Regions from separate parts of the Homo sapiens genome. Here region 1 is linked to region 2. Evidence: promoter capture Hi-C in 16 types of primary human blood cells and fetal thymus (Javierre and others, 2016). All regions are on one chromosome and are shown on one strand. Each heading gives the region's core, a stretch centred on a gene start or on the middle of the fragment in contact. The rest is flanking DNA. Distances are from core to core; before and after follow the strand shown. Region 1 overlaps ACOT13 (acyl-CoA thioesterase 13). Region 2 holds the start of MRS2 (magnesium transporter MRS2).

Region 1 (4,251 bases), core at 525-3,024, 300 kb before region 2:
GTATTTAGCTTCTGGTTGGAATTTGAAAAAAAAAGAAAAAAAGAAAAAGAAAACCTAAATAAAATAGGTGAAAGTTCCCTGACTATTCAGGTGAATACACAAAGTTTGAAGTGTTAACTTTTTCTTTCCATTTCACTGATGTTACTGGTCACCTTAGAGAATTATTTCATAGTCTGTGGCTAAATAGTAAATTCAGAAGAAAAATACCTGGCAATTGAGTGTGTAACTTCAACAAGAACAGGAATCAAGAACATACTGTCAGCTTTCAACAGTTAGCAACCTGGCCTTATGCCTTGCTTCATGGGAAAGGGCCATTCTTAAATTTCAAAATGCTTTCATGTGTCCTCTTATTTAAAAATTAGAATCTATTTGAAATAACATTTTGAATGTTTATTATAACCAGGTACTCTTCTAAGCTCTTGTCTTAACCTCTCAACCTTTGGTGGAAATAGATGCAGAGGTTAAGTAACTTGCTCAAGCTCAGATCATAAGTAGTGGAGGATTTAAAACCAGGCTGGCTGGCTCTTAAGGCCTATGCTCTTAATTTACCATGTTGAATTAATTTACCATATTGAATTACACTTATGTTCACCAAGTTAGGCATTTTGGCAGCCATTGTTTACGTTTTTATTTTGGAATAATTTAGAAAAGTTACCAGAGTAATATGAAAGCTGTTGTGTAATCTTTACCCTCATTTTTATTATTTTGCCACATTTTTTTCATTTTCTCTGTACACTTATACCTGTGAGCTATTTGAGTTTGTTGCACACTTTGTGCTTCCTTACCCCTTCCTTAGTACTTCGGCATATGTTCCAAGTACAAGAATATTTCATATAACTAGAGTAAAATTACCAAACTCAGGGAATGTTGATACTCTTTATCATCCATATTCGTTTTGTTGTCCCAGTATCCTTGGTAGCTTGTTTTAGATCCCCCCCTCTAGAGTACAGGATCATTGAATTTAGTTGTTCTCAGTTGTCTTTAATGTGGAACAGTTCCTTAGCCTTTATGTGTTCCATGACCTCTATGTTTTTTGGAGTACAGGGCAATTTTTCTTGTAAATTGTTACTCATTTTGCATTTGAATTGTTTATTCATGCTTAACGCCCTTCTCAAGTATACTCTCCATCTGCTCTTCATTGATGTTACTTTTGAGCGCCTGGTCAAGGTGTCCTGGTTTTGCCCTATGTGTGGTACTTACTACTAGCAATCTCTGGGAAGCAATGTGCAAATACCCTGTTCCTTTATCAGGAGCTCCCTTGGCGATTCTTTCCAGACTAAAACCCAAACCAGTCTTTAACTATGATGGTTACAAAATAGTGATTTTCCAAATCTAATGCTTTGTCCATTTACAGCATTTGTTGTAAGAGAGTGTTCTATCTCTGCCATTTATTATCTACCTAAACACTATGGCCTCATATTTTTTCCCTCCAAATCATAATTTGCATGCCTTTATTATTTTGAGCATCTCCTTTCATGCATAAGATACTGTAACCTTTCTGTCCCAGCCTCAAGCCCTGGAGTCAGCTGTTTCTCCAAGGAGCCCAGCTTCCTTTTAGTGGGAAATACTAGAAGTAAACATCTGGGACTCCTGTATGCTCACTGCTGCTATTGCTACTGTGGAGTCTTCTGCCCTTTCACAGTGGACAGATCAGCAGGCGATCTAATGTAGGGAAAGGATTTGTCTTTAACTGTTAACTTGACTTAAATTTACTTAAAGCTGCATCCTTTTTAGTCTTTAGTCATGAAATGTTCATTAAGATTCCCTGACAGAAATCAAGTAAGAGTCAGCTGGGTGCAGTGGTTCACACCTGTAAGTCCAGTACTTGGGGGGCCAAGGCAGGAGGATTGCTTGAGCCTAGGAGTTTGAGACGAGGCTGGGCAACAGTGAGACCTTGTTTCTACAAAAATAAAATTAGGCGTGGTGGCACACGCCTGTAGTTCCAGCTACTCAGGAGACTGAGGTGGAAGAATGTCTTGAGCCTGGGATTTTGAGGCTATGGGAAGCTGTGATTGTATCACTCCAGCCTGAGTGACAGAAGCTGTCTCAGAGTGCCACAGTCAACTGAACTTGGAGACTTCTGAGAAGTGAACTTGGTCTTTTCAATACTATAGACTTGGAGGTTTGAGATCTGCATGGTTTTATTCTCGGTACAAGAAAAGGGGCTAGTAGCATGCTTTTTTTCTTCCCCCTCTATTGGACCATTTCCTGTAACACTAACATGCTTAGCCTCAAACTTTTCTTGAGGTCTTTTTTAGGCATATGGCTCAATCTATTTTATTTTTCAATATGGGCTGTAGTTCATATATTTTGAAGTTTCATAATCTTAAAAAAAGGAAATGCAAGTGTAGCTTGGCATTTTAGATCTGGGAAGGACCTAAGATTCGCTAAGGATTGGCCATTGCTGTGGTCTCCATGTGTTTCCCCTAAATTTGTATGTTAAAATCCCAACCCCCAAGGTGATATTAGCAGGTGGGGGTCTTTGGGAAGTTATTAGATCACGAGGGCAGAACCCTCAAGATTGGAGTAAGTGCCCTTACAAAAGAGAACCCAGGCTGGGCACATTGGCTCACACCTGTAATCCCAGCACTTTGGGGGGCCAAGGCAGGCGGATCACCTGAGGTCACGAGTTCGAGACCAGCCTGGCCAACATGGTGAACCCTGTTTCTACAAAAAACTACAAAAATTAGCTAGGTGTGATGGCACATGCCTATAGTCCCAGCTACTTGGGAGGCTGAGGCAGGAGAATCACTTGAACCCAGGGGGCAGAGATTGCAGTGAGCCGAGATCGTGCTGCTGTACTCCAGCCTGGGCAACAGAGCGAGACTCCATTTCAAAAACGAGAACCCAGAGGGCTCACTTGCCCCTTCCACCACACAGTGAGAAGGCACCATCTATGAGCCAGGAAGCGGGCCCTCACCTAACAGGATCTGCTGGGCCTTGACCCAGGACTTTCCAGCTTCTAGAACCATGAAAAATTTCTGTTGTTCCTAGCAGCCCAAACAGAATTAGAACCATTAATTTCTATTTCTCCTTTAGCTTAACACTGGACTTTAGTTTTAATCTTAACTGAGAGTGGTCCTGCTAGTTTCTTTGCTTTACCTGTTTTTAAAACACTTTGAGCTAAGAATTTTTCACCCAATTATCACACATGATTAGAAAACAAGATGCTTAAAGTGAAAAAAGACACCCCCACCTTTACCCTACTTGATATCCAGGTCCTTTTCCTCCAAGAATATTTCTAGCTGCTTCTGGTTTTGCTAGTTTATTTCAAAAATTACAATTGTTTGAGTCAAATCTATACTTGATATTCATTGTTGGGTTTCTTTAGGTCATTCTGCTGTTCTCTCAGTTTCCCAGGTGTTTTGTGTGTCTTCCTTGTGCTATTAATTTTCCTGTGGCCTTGTTGGTCAGATCCACAGAGGTAAATGCAAGTGTTTTTCCTTGCTTCAGAACATGTGCTGTAATCACTATATCTTCTCCTAATTTTGCAGGTGACATGTACCTTGAAAGAAAATGAATATAGTTAACAGCAGATAATTTTTCAAAGGGAAAGTTGTGTGCATCTCACAACAGTGTTCCTATGTAACTTATTTTACTCCTAAAAATAGTTTTAACGGTAGTATTGGTAAGCTTTCTGTACTATCAAATGTGAATGGCTGGTCCTAACCAGGTTCTATTTTACCCATTCCTTACCCACACAAGTTTCTTTTCCCAAATATGTGAGAAGAGGTTTTCTTGCCTCCCCTTTTTTCCCTTTACATTTCCCACTTCACATTTATTTGGGGCTGGTGAAAGATTTCCTCCAGCTTTCATTTAATCTCCTTAACTTCTTAGATGAAATATCACTTGGTGTCTGTATATTGTCCTATCCATATTTACAATTTATTTGACTCTAAAATGACAATATAACAACTATAAGGAATTGATATGATGTCCTTACAATCTTGATGATGGACTGTCTATATTTTTAAGAGATGTACATCCTAGTCACTTGTAATCATAAGTTGTCTTTAACTCAGCTGGCTCCAGCTAATTAAAAAAAAAATTGGGGAGATGAGGATTGTTTAAAACAAATGTTAATGTTTTAAAGGGAAATAATTTCCTTACAGTTTATTTTTATGTTTCTGCTTTTTAGAAAGAAACCTTTAAAAAGGATATGTATTTTTGCCATATTCAAAATAAGACTTCAGTATTTATGGCTAGGAGGTATAAGAAAGGTGGATCTGGCCGGGCACGATGGCTCAAGCC
Region 2 (3,888 bases), core at 294-2,793:
AAAAAAAAACCTATTTCTGATCTTTTTTCTACTACATACACGTAATGATTGTTGTAATTTGTTAGTATCTGAAGTTTCATTTCCCTTTTACAAAATACAAATTATCACTATAAGGGTAAGATGAATAAAGGTAAAAGGCATTTGCTGATTACAAATGCCTTTCAATGTTTTAATGTCACAAATTAGAGTGTAACCGGGATTGAGATTGTGAACGTCAATGCTTGTCCTAAAAGTTTCCTCCAACTTGCTGAAACTGGATTCCCAAGCATTATCAATTGAGGGTGCAGAGCATGTAACCCAACTTAGCCTCTCCAATAAGTGGAGAATGAGGTGCTGACGAGGAGTTACTTTGGGAGGCTTTTGAGAGCACAATTGAGAAAACATATTTGAGGACACTGCTATGTTCTTAATAAAGTCATTCATTTCAATACCTTTTATTCCTCAAATATTTGCACTCACATTTGTGAAAATCTTAACTTTTCACCATGCTTCAACATTTGGTGAAAAAATAAACAGCAAATAAGATTTTTTTTTCTCAATCCGATCTCCCTGGCTGTTTACTTATAGAGTACTGTAGTTGAAAGTAAGTCGTTCTCAGAAACAACTCAGTCTTTAGCCTCACTTCTAGGTGCGTCCCCAATCTCCGTGCAACTGGACAACTGTATAAATGTGTCCATAACGAAGAAACAGAAAACAGGGAAGTATTAATTTATACTTATGACTTCCGAACAGATGAAATCCTTGTTTAAAAACACCTCTCGGCCAGGTGTGGTGGCTCACGCCTGTAATCCCAGCGCTTTGCGAGGCTAATGCGTTAGGATGGCTCGAGGCAAGGAGTTTGAGTCCAGCCTGGGCAACATAGTAAGACCCTGTCTCAAAAACAACACAGAAAAAACCTCTTACAAGAGCACTTAAGCGGGTGTTAACTAACGTGATCACGGTCTGTAAACGATTCCTAGGTTGTTCCTATGGTTACATAATCTGCAGCAAGGGCGGTGGAGGAGAAGGCAGAGGGTTGGCCGCTGGGACCCCGGCAGGGCACAGCGCACATAGCAAGGTCGCATTCTGAGCGAGTGGGACGCAGCTCGGCCCGCGGGCCTGTGCAAGCTCACAGGACACGCGGGAGGCCGAGGCCTGCGGAGGGCGCGGAGCAACAGGCGCGCCGCGCCGGACGGCTGGGGCAGCAGTCTAAGGTCACTGCAAGACCAGCGTCCCAAGGCTGTTGCCGGGGAAGGGCAGTACCTGCCACGCGGAGCCGGTCGGGCCCGCAAAGCTGCGCCGCTCGGCTCCTTCCAATCAGGTTGGCTCGGCGGCCGCAGGCAGCAACGGGAGGACCCACAGAGGTCACGTCCAAGGCCAGGGCACACAGCGTCCGCCGGGGAAGTCTCATCGCGCGGGGCAGGAGGCAGGGTAAACTGCGCAGGCATTCCATGGTGCTGGAGCAAGAAGCAGGCAGCAGCCAGACCCCAGACCTTCATGCCGGACGCTGGCTGCTCAGGCCGCAGCTCTGACCTGTCGCTACCGCCCGACCTGCAGACTCTGTGCACCAGGCATGCGCGGGGCGTGCCGCGCCTGCGTGCTACTTCCCCACGCATGCTCGGAAGGTACCTGTGGGCGAGCCTGTTAAGTCCACAGCCAATAGACGTTTGCTTGCCTACCTGTACCTGCACCTGTACCTAAGTGAGGGGGCAGGCGGGCTGGGAGATGGGTGGAGCACGTTTACCTGCACTAAGTGAGCTGTCCAACCTAGGTTCTTGGGCGCTTGGAGTGTCATGGTTTTGTAGTTTGTGGAGAATTTTCATACCTATGAAAATTGCAGTTTGGAAATGAGCAGGTTACCCATTCCCACATCATTTAATTTATATTTAAATTTAACGTGGTGTAGGGAGCAAGAGGGAAAGCTCCTACTTTTGCCCTCTGAAAGTTGCTGGAATGAACTAAGTAGACAGATTAGCAGGAGAAAAAGGCATACAAAATTTGCTTAACGTGCATAGGGAAAAATCACAGAAGAGTGATTACTCAATAACTCAATTAAGGTCCAGATGCTTGTATACCCTTCTTTGTTGAGTAGAGGGAGATAGGTATGAATGGGCCCGAAAGCCAGACAGTGGTTTGCAAATGATTCTCCTTGGACATTCAGTGGGACAGAAGTACAAACAATCGCTTGTGGACAAGCTGTGAAACTTCACTCTGAACAAAAATTGTCCTATTATACAGGTAAAGTTTCCCAGGTAATCTCTTGGAGCTACCCTCAGAAGTATCTATGAAAAGTCTCAGTGTGGCTATGACTTTCAGTTTTTGTCTCTTCTCTGGGTGATTAATCTCTTCTGATTATTTAATGCGATTCCTAAGGAACGGGTTTTAAGACAATTGCATTTCTTTGGAAAAGAGTTTTCTCTGTCAGATAAGGAAATTCCTTATCTGGCTGTGCAGGAAAAGAGAGCCCCTTCAGGTGCTTGGAAAAAGTAAGAGTATCAGAGAGACAAAAGGAAGGGGGAAGGTGAGAGAGAGAGGCCTTGATTTTTAGGCTTCTTTCTGAGACCCTTTTAATTTCCTTTAATTCAAAGACTCAACATGCCACCGGGCGTGGTGCCTCATGCCTGTAATCCAGCACTTTGGGAGCCAAGCACTTTGGGAGGCCAATGTTGTGGACCACTTGAGGTTAGGAGTTCAGGACCAGCCTGGCCAACATGGCAAAACCCGTCTCTACTAAAAATACAAAAATTAGCCGGGTGTGGTTGCAGGTGCCTGTAATCCCAGCTACTTGTAAGGCTGAGGCATAAGAATTGCTGGAATCCAGGAGGTGGAGGTTGCAGCGAGCCCAGATCATGCCATTGCATTCCAGCCTGTACTGCATTCCAGCCTGTACGACAGAGTGAGACTCCCATCTCAAAACAAACAAACCCCAAAGACTCAGCATGCCAAAACATCATATTTTGGGGTATTATGGTTTGAGCCCCAGTAGTGGCAAAAATAATCAACTGTCATATGGAATGATGTCATGTATTAAACTTTTGCTATAAAGAATGAGGAGCACAGACACATAAGATTTCTATTCCATATTTAATAAAATGTAAGATAGCATCAATTTTAAGGTACCATTATTTTATGTACCACCAAGAAAGAAAAAAAAACTGATAAGTTATGCTTTCTAAACATGTAGATTGAAAGACATATCTCAATTCCAGTCTTTAAAATATGAAAAAAGTCTTAGGTTAAATACAGTATGTATGCATATTTTAAAAATATGAGTTAATAAATTTATTGTCCCTTCCACAGTAGTAATACAAGGCAGACACAAGTTCCACAGACTTCCTTTCAATATCTATGTATGGACACAAAGCTAAGGAGACAGAGATAGAAACATTTTATTCTGCAGGGTACTGGGACTGGGGATGGAGTAGGAGGGCAGTGCACAAAGAGAAGCCTTCACAGAAGAGAGGATGTTTGACTTGATAATGTGGGGAAAAGAAAGAGAGATCAGATTGTTACTGTGTCTGTGTAGAAAGAAGTAGACATAAGAGACTCCATTTTGTTCTGTACTAAGAACAATTCTTCTGCCTTGAGATGCTGTTAATCTGTAACCCTACCCCCAACCCTGTGCTCCCTGAAACATGTGCTATGTCACCTCAGAGTTAAATGATTAAGGGCTGTGCAGGATGTGCTTTGTTAAACAAATGCTCGAAGGCAGCATGCTTGTTAAGAGTCATCACCACTCCCTAATCTCAAGTACCCAGAGACACAAAACACTGCAGAAGGTCGCAGGGACCTCTGCCTGGGAAAGCCAGGTATTGTCCAAGGTTTCTCCCCATGTGATAGTCTGAAATATGGCCTCGTGGGAGGGGAAAGACCTGACCGTCCCCCAGCCCGACACCCGTAAAGGGTCTG

What was found. The method cuts DNA at HindIII sites, captures the fragments that hold promoters and counts their contacts. A CHiCAGO score of 5 or more calls a contact.
Region 1: a contact is called between a fragment that was not itself captured here and the fragment with the promoter of MRS2 in region 2, in 1 of 17 cell types (M0 macrophages). The highest score is 7.3, in M0 macrophages.

What each region holds. Positions count from the first base shown.
Region 1 is chr6:24,700,713-24,704,963 of GRCh38, reverse strand. It overlaps ACOT13 (acyl-CoA thioesterase 13), which reads right to left. Exons shown (of 3, transcript NM_018473.4): 3 at 1-3,505. The coding sequence ends at 3,349. C6orf62 (chromosome 6 open reading frame 62) reads left to right here. Exons shown (of 5, transcript NM_030939.5): 5 at 1-103. Among named protein-coding and RNA genes, the nearest start is that of C6orf62, 16 kb to the left of the region's middle. The HindIII fragment of the contact is 3,722 bases long and covers 1-3,635 here.
Region 2 is chr6:24,400,591-24,404,478 of GRCh38, reverse strand. MRS2 (magnesium transporter MRS2) reads right to left here and starts at 1,543. Exons shown (of 11, transcript NM_020662.4): 1 at 1,243-1,543. The coding sequence starts at 1,432. RefSeq lists enhancers at 172-906, 3,115-3,850, 3,851-3,888 and silencers at 2,664-2,958, 3,844-3,888. The HindIII fragment of the contact is 7,340 bases long and covers 1-3,888 here.